3 separate regions of the Homo sapiens genome follow, and all the other regions are linked to region 1. Evidence: promoter capture Hi-C in 16 types of primary human blood cells and fetal thymus (Javierre and others, 2016). All regions are on one chromosome and are shown on one strand. The core of a region is centred on a gene start or on the middle of the fragment in contact, and the rest is flanking DNA. Distances in the headings are between cores, read along the strand shown. Region 1 holds the start of RMND1 (required for meiotic nuclear division 1 homolog). Region 2 overlaps PCMT1 (protein-L-isoaspartate (D-aspartate) O-methyltransferase). Region 3 holds the start of MTRF1L (mitochondrial translation release factor 1 like).

Region 1 (3,948 bases), core at 566-3,065:
AGTGAGGAGACCCTCCGCCCGGCAGCCACCCCATCCGGGAGGGAGGTGGGGGTCAGCCCCCGCCAGGCCAGCCACCCCATCCGGGAGGGAGGTGGGGGTCAGCCCCCCGCCCGGCCAGCCACCCCGTCTGGGAGGGAGGTGGGGGGGCCAGCCCCCGTCCGGGAGGAAGGTGGGGTGTCAGCCCCCCGCCCGGCCAGCCGCCCCGTCCGGGAGGGAGGTGGGGGGTCAGCCCCCCGCCCGGCCAGCCGCCCCGTCCGGGAGGGAGGTGGGGGGGTCAGCCCCCCGCCCGGCCAGCCGCCCCGTCCGGGAGGTGAGGGGCGCCTCTGCCCGGCCGCCCCTACTGGGATGTGAGGAGCCCCTCTGCCCGGCCACCACCCCGTCTGGGAGGTGTACTCAACAGCTCATTGAGAACGGGACGGGATGACAATGGCGGTTTTGTGTAATAGAAAGGGGGGAAAGGGGGGGAAAAGATTGAGAAATCGGATGGTTGCCGTGTCTGTGTAGAAAGAAGTAGACATGGGAGACTTTTCATTTTGTTCCATACTAAGAAAAATTCTTCTGCCTTGGGATCCTGCTAATCGGTGACCTTACCCCCAACCCTGTGCTCTCTGAAACATGTGCTGTGTCCACTCAGAGTTGAATGGATTAAGGGCGGTGCAAGATGTGCTTTGTTAAACAGATGCTTGAAGGCAGCGTGCTGGTTAAGAGTCATCACCACTCCCTAATCTCAAGTACCCAGGGACACAAACACTGCGGAAGGCCGCAGGGTCCTCTGCCTAGGAAAACCAGAGACCTTTGTGCACTTGTTTATCTGCTGACCTTCCCTCCACTATTGTCCTATGACCCTGCCAAATCCCCCTCTGCGAGAAACACCCAAGAATGATCAATAAAAAAAAAAAAAAAAAAAAACACAACCAGCATCCATTCTCTTATCTTCCTCCACTTTGCATTTCTCCATTGTTTAACATCACTTGCACACCTTTAATTTTTAGTTTATTAATTCATACTGCAAACGAACTCAGTTCTTATCATGTGCCAGGTATTGTCCTAGTTGCTGACAATACAGCTGAAAATAAAATAGACAAAAATCCTATCTTTTGAATCTTTTGAACCTTGCATTGGGAGTGACAGACAAAACGAGGTAAATCAGTAAAATACGTGAGACACAAAGCTAAAGGAAAAAAATAAGAGGAAAGGGCAGATTTTTGTGTCTTCCTTCCAGAATGGAAGCTCCCTGAGGATACGGATTTGTGTTTTTTCCTATTATATCTCCTGACAATAGCGCCCAGCACATAGTAGGCATTCGATCGAATTTTTAAAATGAAATACAAGGCAGTTACTCAGTTCCCGGGCACATTTCAACTTTTAGAGAACAATTACACCAATTAAGAAAATCGATTACAGCTAGGCTACGATTCGAGAGCTAAGTGGCGCTCATCTTTGGGAGTATGCCGTTCAATTCCTCAAACTCAAAATTATTTTATCGATTTCTACAGTTACCGCGGTGCACTGGCTCAAAAAAAGGGTTCATTAATTGAGTGCTTTTTACTCCCAGCTAAGCTGACCAAAGATCACGGTAAGAGGCAAAGGGTCACAGCCGCACTGGCGTAACCCGTAACTGTACACGTTCCGGGCGGCCAGGAGCCAGGGCGCAGACCTCCAAGCCGGACCACTCGAGCTGCTAAAGAAAAGGCAATACACTAACCTCTCCGCCGGAAGAGAAGAAGGAAGCGCCAGGGACGCACGCTTCCTCGGCAGGACTGCAGGGAAAGAGCCGCACCCCCAGCCTCTCACTACTGCAGCCAACCCATCTCCTGGAAGGGCGCTCCCGCCCACCCCCGCTACTGCGCAGCCGCACTGAACTCTGGTCCCACTTAGCGGGAGAAACTCGGGCCACGTGACTGTCTGACCACGTGAGCCGCGTCGCCGCGACCTCTTCCGCTCCCTAGGCCCTGGGACCTCCCGGTCCCTTGCCTGCTTCCGGCTTTCGCTCGCTTCCATATCCGCTCCTCTAGTCGCCCTCCGCTGGCCCCGCCTTCGTCCCCGGAAGATTGGGTCTTCTGGCGAGCCACTGTTTGCCGTTTGATCGGGCACCAAATAAAGTTTCTTTATTCAAAAGCACTTTTTTTTTAAAGCCACACCACCCCCATTCTCAGCTCCTCCTTCGCGGCGGTACCGCCTCTGTTTCTGCGGCGATTGAACAGCCGAGCTTTGCGGCCGGGATCGCGGAAAGTGATGGCTGTCGTCCCGGCGTCTCTCTCAGGACAGGACGTGGGGTTAGTCTAGCTTTTCTCCTCCCCACTTTTGCGGAAAGCCGGGCCTCGCCGGGAGCCTGTGGGGACTAAGCGGAGGGCGCCCGCTCCCCGGTGGGCTGCGTTCGAGTCCCGCCGCCGGGCGCGGCTTTCCGGGGCGCCTTTGCGGGTTTCGCGGACTGGCTCGGAGGCGAAGGGAGGCGGCCCCGGGGAGGGAGCCTGCCCGCGGCGGCTGCTCGTAAGGATCAGGACAGGGGTCAGCTTCGCGGTCTGTTCCTGGCGGTCACTTTTTATTTATTCACTTTAATAGACGCGCTTTGGGGGCGTTAAAATTCTGCGTAAGAGTTGGGGATCTCAGCGCTATTAAGAAACGGGTTTCTCCCTGTTGTTGATCAAATCGTAATCTCACAGTAAGAACTGTCTAGTTTTTTGCTTTATAGTCGTCACGCTACTGATTCTTGGGTAAAGTTGTGGGTGACCGTGCAAATAACATCCATTTGCATAAATCGAATGGCCAAATTTATATTTGAAATTTGTCCTTACTTCAAAATATTGCAAAAGACGAGAACACTTTGAAGAAAATAAACCTGGGCAGAAAGTAGGTTGAGGCCAACAAAGTGGCGCCAATGGCCCCAAATTGAGGCAGTCACTGTTTCAGGTCATGCAAGTATAGAGAGTATCTCCTTCAATTTTGCGCCCTAGGGCTTCTGGCCTCACTCCAGTCCTGGCCAGAGACTTTGTTCCAGAGGTGCAGGAAATGTAGTAGTTAGGAAAACAGTAATACTTTCCAATTAAAGTAAAATCTCAAAAAAGGACTTACTATACCTACTGCCTGGGAAAATTCAAGTGACAGTTGATTTAATGTTCCTGCTCACCCTCTGAGGTATTAGTGATTTCTTTTATTAATGATTTTTAAAAATTAAATTCTGATCAACGTAGTTATTATGCGCATTAAAACCTAATCACTGTTTTGGGTGGTACTGAAAGCACCACAGAGTCGGAAAGTGTGTGCAGTTTTTTTCTTAAAGTTCTATAGCTATCATTTGAGGAAACCTTTTGAAGAAATACCCAAGTTACAATCTAGTAATTTAACAATTGTCTCCTGTGATCTGGAGATAAAAACACTAGTCAGCTAAGCTCTGTGCTCTATATTTAAAACTGCACAGAATTTCTCCACCAAATAAAGCTTTTTTTCTACCTGTATCATGTATTTCCTTAGAATGATATAAAATGATAATCTGTAAATCTTGGGTTTTGTATGAATAAAATCAAGAATATCTTTAATTTTTTAATGCAGGTATAAGTTTTTCTTCATCTCCAGCTTGCTTCATTCTTGAACACTTCTATAAAATCTCTGATTTTTTGAGTGGGAAGAGACAGTAGCACGCCTTCATTTGCTTAGGGGCAGAATAGGATGGAAGGAGTCCATTGTGCAGATAGAGAAGGCAGAGAAGGGGAAAATTTTTGAAAATAATTAAAATTGACTTAGAAAATAGACAGAATGGAGAGAAACAGGCTTAAAAGTACCTTTAATTCTTTATGTTGTTCAAGCACATTAGACCCTTTAGGTGGTTTTAGATGCATTGCTTCATTCATCTTTCTAAGCAGGTGACTTAGCAGATAGTAGACCTGGGACAAGAGCCTGTTTGATTTCTAAGCTAATCCATTCCCTATCCTATCACTTTGCTAAGCGAGT
Region 2 (3,948 bases), core at 564-3,063, 1.7 Mb before region 1:
GGAGTGCAGTACAGGTGATGCTGCTGTCACTCAGGTCCGCGTCCGGGTCCGGCTTGTGAGGGGCGTGCCTTCGGGGTGGGAGCGTGTGGGCTAGGCCTTATGGAGAGTGGGCTGGCGCTCAGGAGACCCCACCCTCGTCCCCTGCATTTTTCTCACCTTCCTCCTCCATAATCAACCTCGCTGCAAGCTTTCCCTCTTATGCAGCCTCCCCCGCCCTCCGTTTTTTCCCCTGGAGGGAGATGCCACCGTCTGATACAGGCGAGGGGAGGAAGATGAGAGTATTGCCATTGCAGATGCTGGGAGAAATTTCTCGGGCGGCTGTCCAGTGGAAAGCTCCGTGCGGGGCGGAGAAAGAACAGGGGATGCTGTTCCTGAGAGACTTGTATTTCAGGAGCCTTTGCAGGTCCTGGATCAGCAGAGGGTTGTGTGTCTGATGTTCTAACTTTTTTCAGGGCTACCATAGGCTTTAAAAACCTTATGTGGAGTTTCTTTATATCACTCTCCTTAGTTACTGTATTCCTTCTTCTGATGATAATTTTAGGATAGGATGAGTGCTGTGTCACTTTCTTTTTTTAAATCGAAATATAGCGTCCCCGTTTTGTTGGGAGACTACAAGGGCCGCAGTCTATAATAAACTCACTGGTCAGAATTTATAGCATTATTCGCTACTATGCAGTAATCATATCTTGTCACATGGTATTTTTAATTGTCCTGTGTTACTTAGCTTTTCATGTGTTTGTCTTATTTCTCAACTCGATTTGTAATTTCCTTAACGGCTGGCACCATTAAAAAAAATTTTTTTTGGCCGGGCTCATTGGCTCACGCCTGTAATGCCAGCACTTTGGGAGGCCGAGGCGGGTGGATTACCTGAGTTCAGGAGTTCGAGACCAGCCAGGCCGACATGGTGAAACCCCATCTCTACTAAAAATACAAAAATTAGCCGGGCGTGGTGGTGCCTGCCTGTAATCCCAGCTACTTGTGAGGCTGAGGCAGGAGAATCGCGTGAACCCGGGACGGGGAGGTTGCAGTGAGCCAAGATCTTGCCACTGCACTCCAGCCTGGGCAACAAGGGAGGAAACTCCGCCTCAAAAAAAAAATTTTTTTTTGAATTTTCTCTAAGAATTTAACAGTCATCCCTTTTTTTCATAAATGCCCATTAAATGTCCGTTATATGCCTAAATCTGTGCTAGACAGACAAAGGTAATTGAGAGAAATTAGGAGTACTGTTTGGCACATGGTTGGTACTTTTTTTTTTTTTTTTTTTTTTTGAGACAGAGACTCCCTCTGTAGCCCAGACTGGAGTGCAATGGCGCGGTCTTAGCTCACTGCAACCTCCGCCTCCCAGGTTCAAACAATTGTCCTGTCTCAGCCTCCTGAGTGGCTGGGACTACAGGCGCCTGCCAGCACGCCTGGCTAATTTTTGTATTTTTAGTAGAGAAGGGGTTTCACTATGTTGGCCAGGCTGATGTCGAACTCCTGACTTCATGATCTGCCCACCTCGGCCTCCCAAAGTGCTGGGATTATAGGCGTGAGCCACCGCGCCAGGCCGGTACTTGATATATTAGTCATTTTGGATTTTTTTTTGGTGGGGGGACAATACTTAATGTGGAAACTGAGTCTTTAGTGTTTGGTAAGAGAGAATGTTGATTATTTTTTTTTTTTAGACAGGGTTTCACTGTCACCCAGGTTGGAGTGCAGTGGTGTGAGCTCGGCTCACTGCAACCCCTGCTTTCTGTGCTCAAGCGATTTTCCCACTTCAGCCTCCTGAGTACAGTGGTGCCACCATACCAGGCTAATTTTTAGGGTTTTTTTTTTTTTTTTGGTAGTTTATGAGATGGGGTCTTGCTATGTTGCCCAGGCTGGTCTTGAACTCCTGGACTCAAGCAATTTGTTGGACTCAGGCTCCCAAAATTTTGGGATTACAAGAGTGAGCCACCGCACCTGGCCATGGTGAATGTTTAGATGTCAACATTTTTTTTTTTTGAGACAGAGTTTTGCTCTTGTTTCCCAAGCTGGAGTGCAATGGCGTGATCTTGGCTCACTGCAACCTCTGCCTCCTGGGTTCAAGCGATTCTTCTGCCTCAGCCTCCCGAGTAGCTGGGATTACAGGCACCCACTACCACGCCTGGCTAATTTTTAGTATTTTTAGTAGAAACGGGGTTTCACTATGTTGGCCAGGCTGGTCTCAAACTCTTGACCTAAGGTGATCTGCCTGCCTCGGCCTCCCAAAGTGCTTGAATTACAGGTGTGAGCCACCACGCCCAGCCTAGATGTCAATATTTTGTCAAGCATTGTCAGGTTCATTTTATGGAATGATGCTTGATTGGAAATGGACATTTATGTGCTACAACAGTAGTATGAAGTATGATTTGGGTTCTCATGGATGGCACATAAGCTCAATATGTTGTAAATATTTTTTACGAAATCCCTTAACATGATCTCAGTGCCTTCTATTGCAGTATATGTACCTGAAACATTTTGTACACAAATTGTGATTAAGTAATTTTCCACCGGTAGGTTATCATAGTAGGCACTTGGCTGTGGCAGAAATTTGTAATCAATCAGGCTCTTAAAGTCTCTCCTTTTTTGGGCCAAATTTGTGGTAAGCCAAGACTAGATAGATCTTTTCCCGGTGGTTTCATAATCACTTTAATGTATTGCATTACTGTTCTTAGCTGAAATTTCTAAGGATGTTTTTCTGTCAGGAAATTTAATAAGGAATATTTAATATACATAGATGTTGATTTTGCAAATAGTTTTATACTAGATTTATGATTGGTAAGAGGAAATTAGAGTAGAATAGTTGTTTAGCCTCTTTTGTAACACTTGTGCAACTTTAGTTTCAACTTCTTGCTGAGGTAATTCTAGCTAATAGATTTCTTTTTATTAGCTTATTATAAAAGTAATACTTGCTCATGTGAAAATTGTAATTGACATAAAATTTGAAAATATTGCCTTCCTTCCTCATTATTCTACTGTGTATATTCTTCCTAAATTAAAGGCTTTTAATTGAAATCTTAGAAAAATATAAAAATGTGATTGTGTTGATGTTGAAATGAAAAGGGGCCTGCTTACTAGAAGGGGAAGGAAATTACATTTTTAATGGTTTTTTTTTTTTGAGACAGAGTTTCGCTCTTATTGCCCAGGCTGGAGTGCAATGGCACGATCTCAGCTCACCACAACCTCTGCTTCCCAGGTTCAAGCAATTCTCTGGCCTCAGCCTCCCGAGTAGCTGGGATTACAGGCAGGCGCCACCACACCCAGCTAATTTTGTATTTTTAGTAGAGACAAGGTTTCTCCATGTTGGTCAGCTGGTCTTGAATTCCCAACCTCAGGTGATCTGCCTGCCTCAGCCTCCCAAAGTGCTGGGATTACAGGCATGATCCACCACACCTGGCCAATAGTTTTTTTTGTTTTGTTTTGTTTTGTTTTTAAGAAATGAAGCTTAATATAATTTGTTAAGAATATTTTGTTTTCCTTTTGTATTAAAATCTATCATAATAGGACTGTGGTTGTATGATTTCATAGTTGATGCATCATTTATAGAATATTTCAGATTGTAATGGTAGATTTCTTATGTCATGGCTTATATTATAACCACTCTTAAGTAACTTAGAACAGTGACTAAAACTTGAGCATGCTTCAAAATCTCCTGAATCACCTGGAGAGCTTTTCAAAATACAGATTGCCGGAGCTTGAGAATTTGTATTTCTAACAGATTTGTAAGTGGTGCCACTGCTGGTCCAGGGACCACATTTTGAGAACCAGTGACATGGAGAATTGAAAATTATAAGGTTGAATTCTGCCAGCATATCAGCTAAATCAGTTTTATGCTTTAGAATAATGTTTTAGAAAAAGTCTATAGCAGTCTTGCCCTATAGAGTGCTTGGTGATGTTCTCTATATTGTCCAGTGTGGTAGCTACTAGCTACATGTGGCATTTAACATT
Region 3 (3,948 bases), core at 989-3,488, 1.6 Mb after region 1:
ACTCACAGGCAATGGTAATATACTACTTCTTTAATTTCTCTTGAATATTATAAATCAACATATGTTTACTGGACACCTACCATGTGCCTGCCTTCCCCTTTGCCTATAAAGATGTTTATGGTTTCCCATTCTAAATGGGTCCTTTTCTTTTCAACCCTTTAAGTAGCTGCTTATTGTCACCCCTCTTTTCCCACCCAGATTTCTGGAGATAAAATGCCATTTTTATAACTTTTCTCCTGTTAACTCTAATTTACCTCTCAAGCTGTTACACTGGATTCTATAATCATATCAAGACCATTTTTATTCAAGTTACCAATGACAAAATTGCCAAATCTAAAGACTTATTTCAGTGTGAGCTGAAAAGGTTGTTTTACCTTTCTATGTCAGGTACTACGGATTTTTTTTTTTTTTTTTTTTTTTTGAGGCAGGGTCTTGCGCTGTCACCCAGGCTGGAATGCAGTGGCACCATCTTGGCTCACTGCAACCTCCACCTCCCGGGTTCAAGCGATTCTCCCACCTCAGCCTCTCAAGTAGCTGGGACCACAGGCACGCACCACCATGCCCAGCTAATTTTGCATTGTTTGTAGAGACAGGGTTTTGCCATGTTACCCAGGCTGGTCTCGAACTCCTGGGCTCAAGTGATCGGCCCACCTGAGCCTCTCAAAGTGCTGGAATTAGAGGCGTGAGCCACCACGCCTGGCCAAGGATCTCTTACTTCTTGAAATTTTCTATTGGCTTCTACAGCTTCATTTATTTATCTACTTCAGGGTCACAAAGCTCTGGCTGTTTTTTTCTTGACCTTTTATAGCCTTCTTCTCTGCCTGCTCCTCAAATACTGTGTATTTCTGGCCTTGTTAGACTTGTTTCTATCTTAACACATTTTCCCTGAGTGTTCTCATCTACTTCTAAGGTTTAATTTACCACGTACTGTATATCTCGAGAGCTCTCATATGATTATTTGGGCTCAATTTTTCTCCTATGTCAGTAATTTTTTCTCCTAGACTAGTACAGATATCTTTATTGGAATTCCTTTTCACAGGTATTTTTAACTTAATATGGCATTCAATGCAAAACTCATCTTTTTAAAAAATTCGGTCCAACTTTTATACTTTCATCTTAATTAACAGTACCACTCGTGCTGAAGCCAGAAACCTAAGACTTTTCTTAGAACTAACTCTCTCCCTCATCCTTCTCAGGGCATAAGCCACTAAATCCTAACTTGTTTCTCAAAATGTTTTGTGAGTCAGAACTATGCCTATCACCATTTCTTCTTTGGATTGTTTCAACTGCCTCCTCCCTGGCCTGTCAGCCACCAGCGTTTCTGGAGAATACTCCAATTTATCCTCAGCGCATGCCACCATTAACTTTTCTTTACAAAGACGTGAATTCTCTGCTTAAAAACATTTGCTAACTTTCCATGGTCTATAAAAAATAAATCCAAATTCTTTGTCTTGCAAGGTTCTTAACTATTTTTCTGGCTTCATGTTTCTATGACATCATCTCCCACCTATTCTATACTTAGGCCATACTGAATTTCCCAATTTAGTACCTTTACCCACGTATAGGTCTGAGATTCTGAGTCCTAAGTCTGCTATTAACAAGCACTGCCCTGATACTACTGCAAATGGGTCTCCACACCACACTTTGAGAAACACCGCTGTGGAGCCCATCACAGGGACAGTGCCTTATTTATCCTTGCTGAGCTAATGAGCTCTTGCCCGAGTCCACAACTAATAAGCATGTAAAAGGCGGCAGAGCGCCGTGGCAAAGGAGCACAAGAGAGCCCACAGGAGAGGATGGGATCACAGCACGTAATGATGTCCTGACCTCTGATCCAAAATAAAAACGGCTGCAAGTGAGTAAAGAGTTTCAAACTCGGGTAGTGTGGGCAGTGGAAAAGTCAAACGAAGAGTCAAGAATGTGCTCTGACGCCTCTCCCCCGGGCCCGACCCTTACCGTGCAGCAAGTGCTCAGTCTCCCGCAGCTCCCGCTCCTTCTCGTTCAGCAGTTTGATCACCGCCAGCAACTCGGGCCTCCTGACCTTCAAATGGGCTTCAGACCCCGCCTGGCGCTCGAGGAAGGTCCGCAAGGGCCCGCCCCGGGTGAACAGCTCCTCCAGCGGCGGGCTACCGGAGCTCAGGGGCCGGCGGGCTGGGCCAACGGCCCGGCGGGGCCAGAGCCACCGGGCAGCGCCCCACAGAACCCGGGACCGCATCCTTAGTCCGAGATCGCGGACCCTGACCGGAACCGGAAGTTCCGGACACAGCAGCCCTCGCGACAACACCCAGAATTTGGAGATAAGGGTGAGAGCGCACCAAGCCCCGCCCAGCGCAAGCGTTGCTTTTTAAAGGATTTTCCGGAAGCCTTGGCGGGAACTTCCTGCCAAGCGTGAGAACGCTGCGAACTTCCCGGAGGCCAAAAGTTGAGGGGGCTGAGCGGAGCGTGATTGGGGAGGGGCGGGCCTGGGAGACCTTGGGCGCCTCCTCTGAAAGCCTCTTGGTAGGTATCCGGTTGATGGGTGACGTGTTTGGCCGGAAAGGGAGAGCAGCAGATTGCCCCTCTGTTTTCTGATAGTGAGGATTTCTTTCCCATGCACTGAGTCGGGGCCTCCAGAGCCGCAGTGCAGGGCAGTCGAGGGTCCGCTGCAGGGCGGAGGTCACAGCCGCGCAAGTCGTCAGTCTCCGGTGCAGGGCTGCCGCTGAGTCTTCAAGAGCGAGTTTTATTATGGACAGGCGTGTGTTTATTCCTCCTCCTTTTTTCCTGCTTATGTTTCTCTTGTCCACGGTGGGTGAGGTTCGTGGTAATAAGGACTTGATAAGTGTATTATGAGATAACCACTGAATGAATTTGCACAATAGACGTGCGTGCCCTTCATCTGCCGCGTCATTTACTTGCTTTCAAAGGACTTTATTATTCACCTGCCCATTCATTTTCACTTAGTCCCACTTATCGTCAGCTTTTTAAAGAGGTGGAGTGATTCCGTGTTACAGCAACCTACAGCCCAACAAAGCCTTCAGATATCTGCCTCCAGGAGTCCAACCCTCATCCCTTTCCAAAGAACTGGTAGCGGATAGGTGCCAGCAATACCGACATTTATTGGCACAATGCTTTGCACTTTTCAAAAGACCTGTTCACAGCTCAACGGAGAAATAAATATGAGGGAATAAACACAACCAAGACAGTCCTGGGAATGCAAGGGCTAAACGCTCAATCTGAGAACTGCCACTACCTAACTGGTTTGGGCAGCGTCTACTAAGTGGTATTTCACTGTTGAGAGAGGTGATATATTAGAAGTACGAAACTTCTAATTTATTCATAAAAAATAAAATGGTAAAAAATGGGAACCCTTATCAAGGTTAAAATATCCTTAGGTCATCTAATCGAAACTGTTAAGTATAAACATTCTTAGAAAATAACGTTTGCATTGCCTCTCTCTTTTCATCTCTTAGCACGATAACAAATGCAGAGTGAGTGGAAGAATGAAATGACTCTTCAAACATCAGGAAGCAAAAATAGTTTTTTGCTACTTAAAGGCTCCACCTAATTATCTCAGTTCTTTTCACTTTGTGTATTCAAGCTACACAACTTTATACAATCGTTCTGCTGTTGAAACCCATTTTATTTTAATCCTGATCTGAGGATAGAACAGGACTGATCAGGATGTTTTTATCTCTATTAGAACAATTGTTTCCCAAGTCTGAACTTAACTTTGAATTTATCTTAACCATGGAAATGGTGAGAATCACTTGAACTCAACATGGTATATCTCTCAGTTGAGTTCTCAGAACATAAGTCATTTCAACAATATATTTTATTATTTATAAAAGGTGAAACATTTTAATAATTAAAACCTTATAGAACAATGTAAAGAATCTAGCCAGAATTTTATTTTCCCCCAAGTGCATAAGCAATTTAAGTAACACATAGAAGTGTACCTTTTATTCCTAT

The links. The method cuts DNA at HindIII sites, captures the fragments that hold promoters and counts their contacts. A CHiCAGO score of 5 or more calls a contact.
Region 2: a contact is called between a fragment that was not itself captured here and the fragment with the promoter of RMND1 in region 1, in 1 of 17 cell types (fetal thymus). The highest score is 5.5, in fetal thymus.
Region 3: a contact is called between the fragment with the promoter of MTRF1L here and the fragment with the promoter of RMND1 in region 1, in 2 of 17 cell types (non-activated CD4 T cells and naive CD8 T cells). The highest score is 5.8, in non-activated CD4 T cells.

Annotation. Positions count from the first base shown.
Region 1 is chr6:151,450,311-151,454,258 of GRCh38, forward strand. RMND1 (required for meiotic nuclear division 1 homolog) reads right to left here and starts at 1,816. Exons shown (of 12, transcript NM_017909.4): 1 at 1,706-1,816. It overlaps DCPH1 (damage control phosphatase 1), which reads left to right and starts at 2,156. Exons shown (of 5, transcript NM_024573.3): 1 at 2,156-2,276. The coding sequence starts at 2,236. RefSeq lists enhancers at 1,544-1,593, 1,784-2,233 and a silencer at 2,394-2,513. The HindIII fragment of the contact is 8,083 bases long and covers 1-3,436 here.
Region 2 is chr6:149,750,232-149,754,179 of GRCh38, forward strand. All of the region lies in intron 1 of PCMT1 (protein-L-isoaspartate (D-aspartate) O-methyltransferase), which reads left to right. Among named protein-coding and RNA genes, the nearest start is that of PCMT1, 2.5 kb to the left of the region's middle. RefSeq lists silencers at 1-116, 42-336 and enhancers at 441-943, 944-1,446. The HindIII fragment of the contact is 3,257 bases long and covers 186-3,442 here.
Region 3 is chr6:153,000,471-153,004,418 of GRCh38, forward strand. MTRF1L (mitochondrial translation release factor 1 like) reads right to left here and starts at 2,239. Exons shown (of 7, transcript NM_019041.7): 1 at 1,957-2,239. The coding sequence starts at 2,215. RefSeq lists silencers at 1,987-2,046, 2,057-2,166 and enhancers at 2,396-3,396, 2,487-2,596. The HindIII fragment of the contact is 13,608 bases long and covers 1-3,948 here.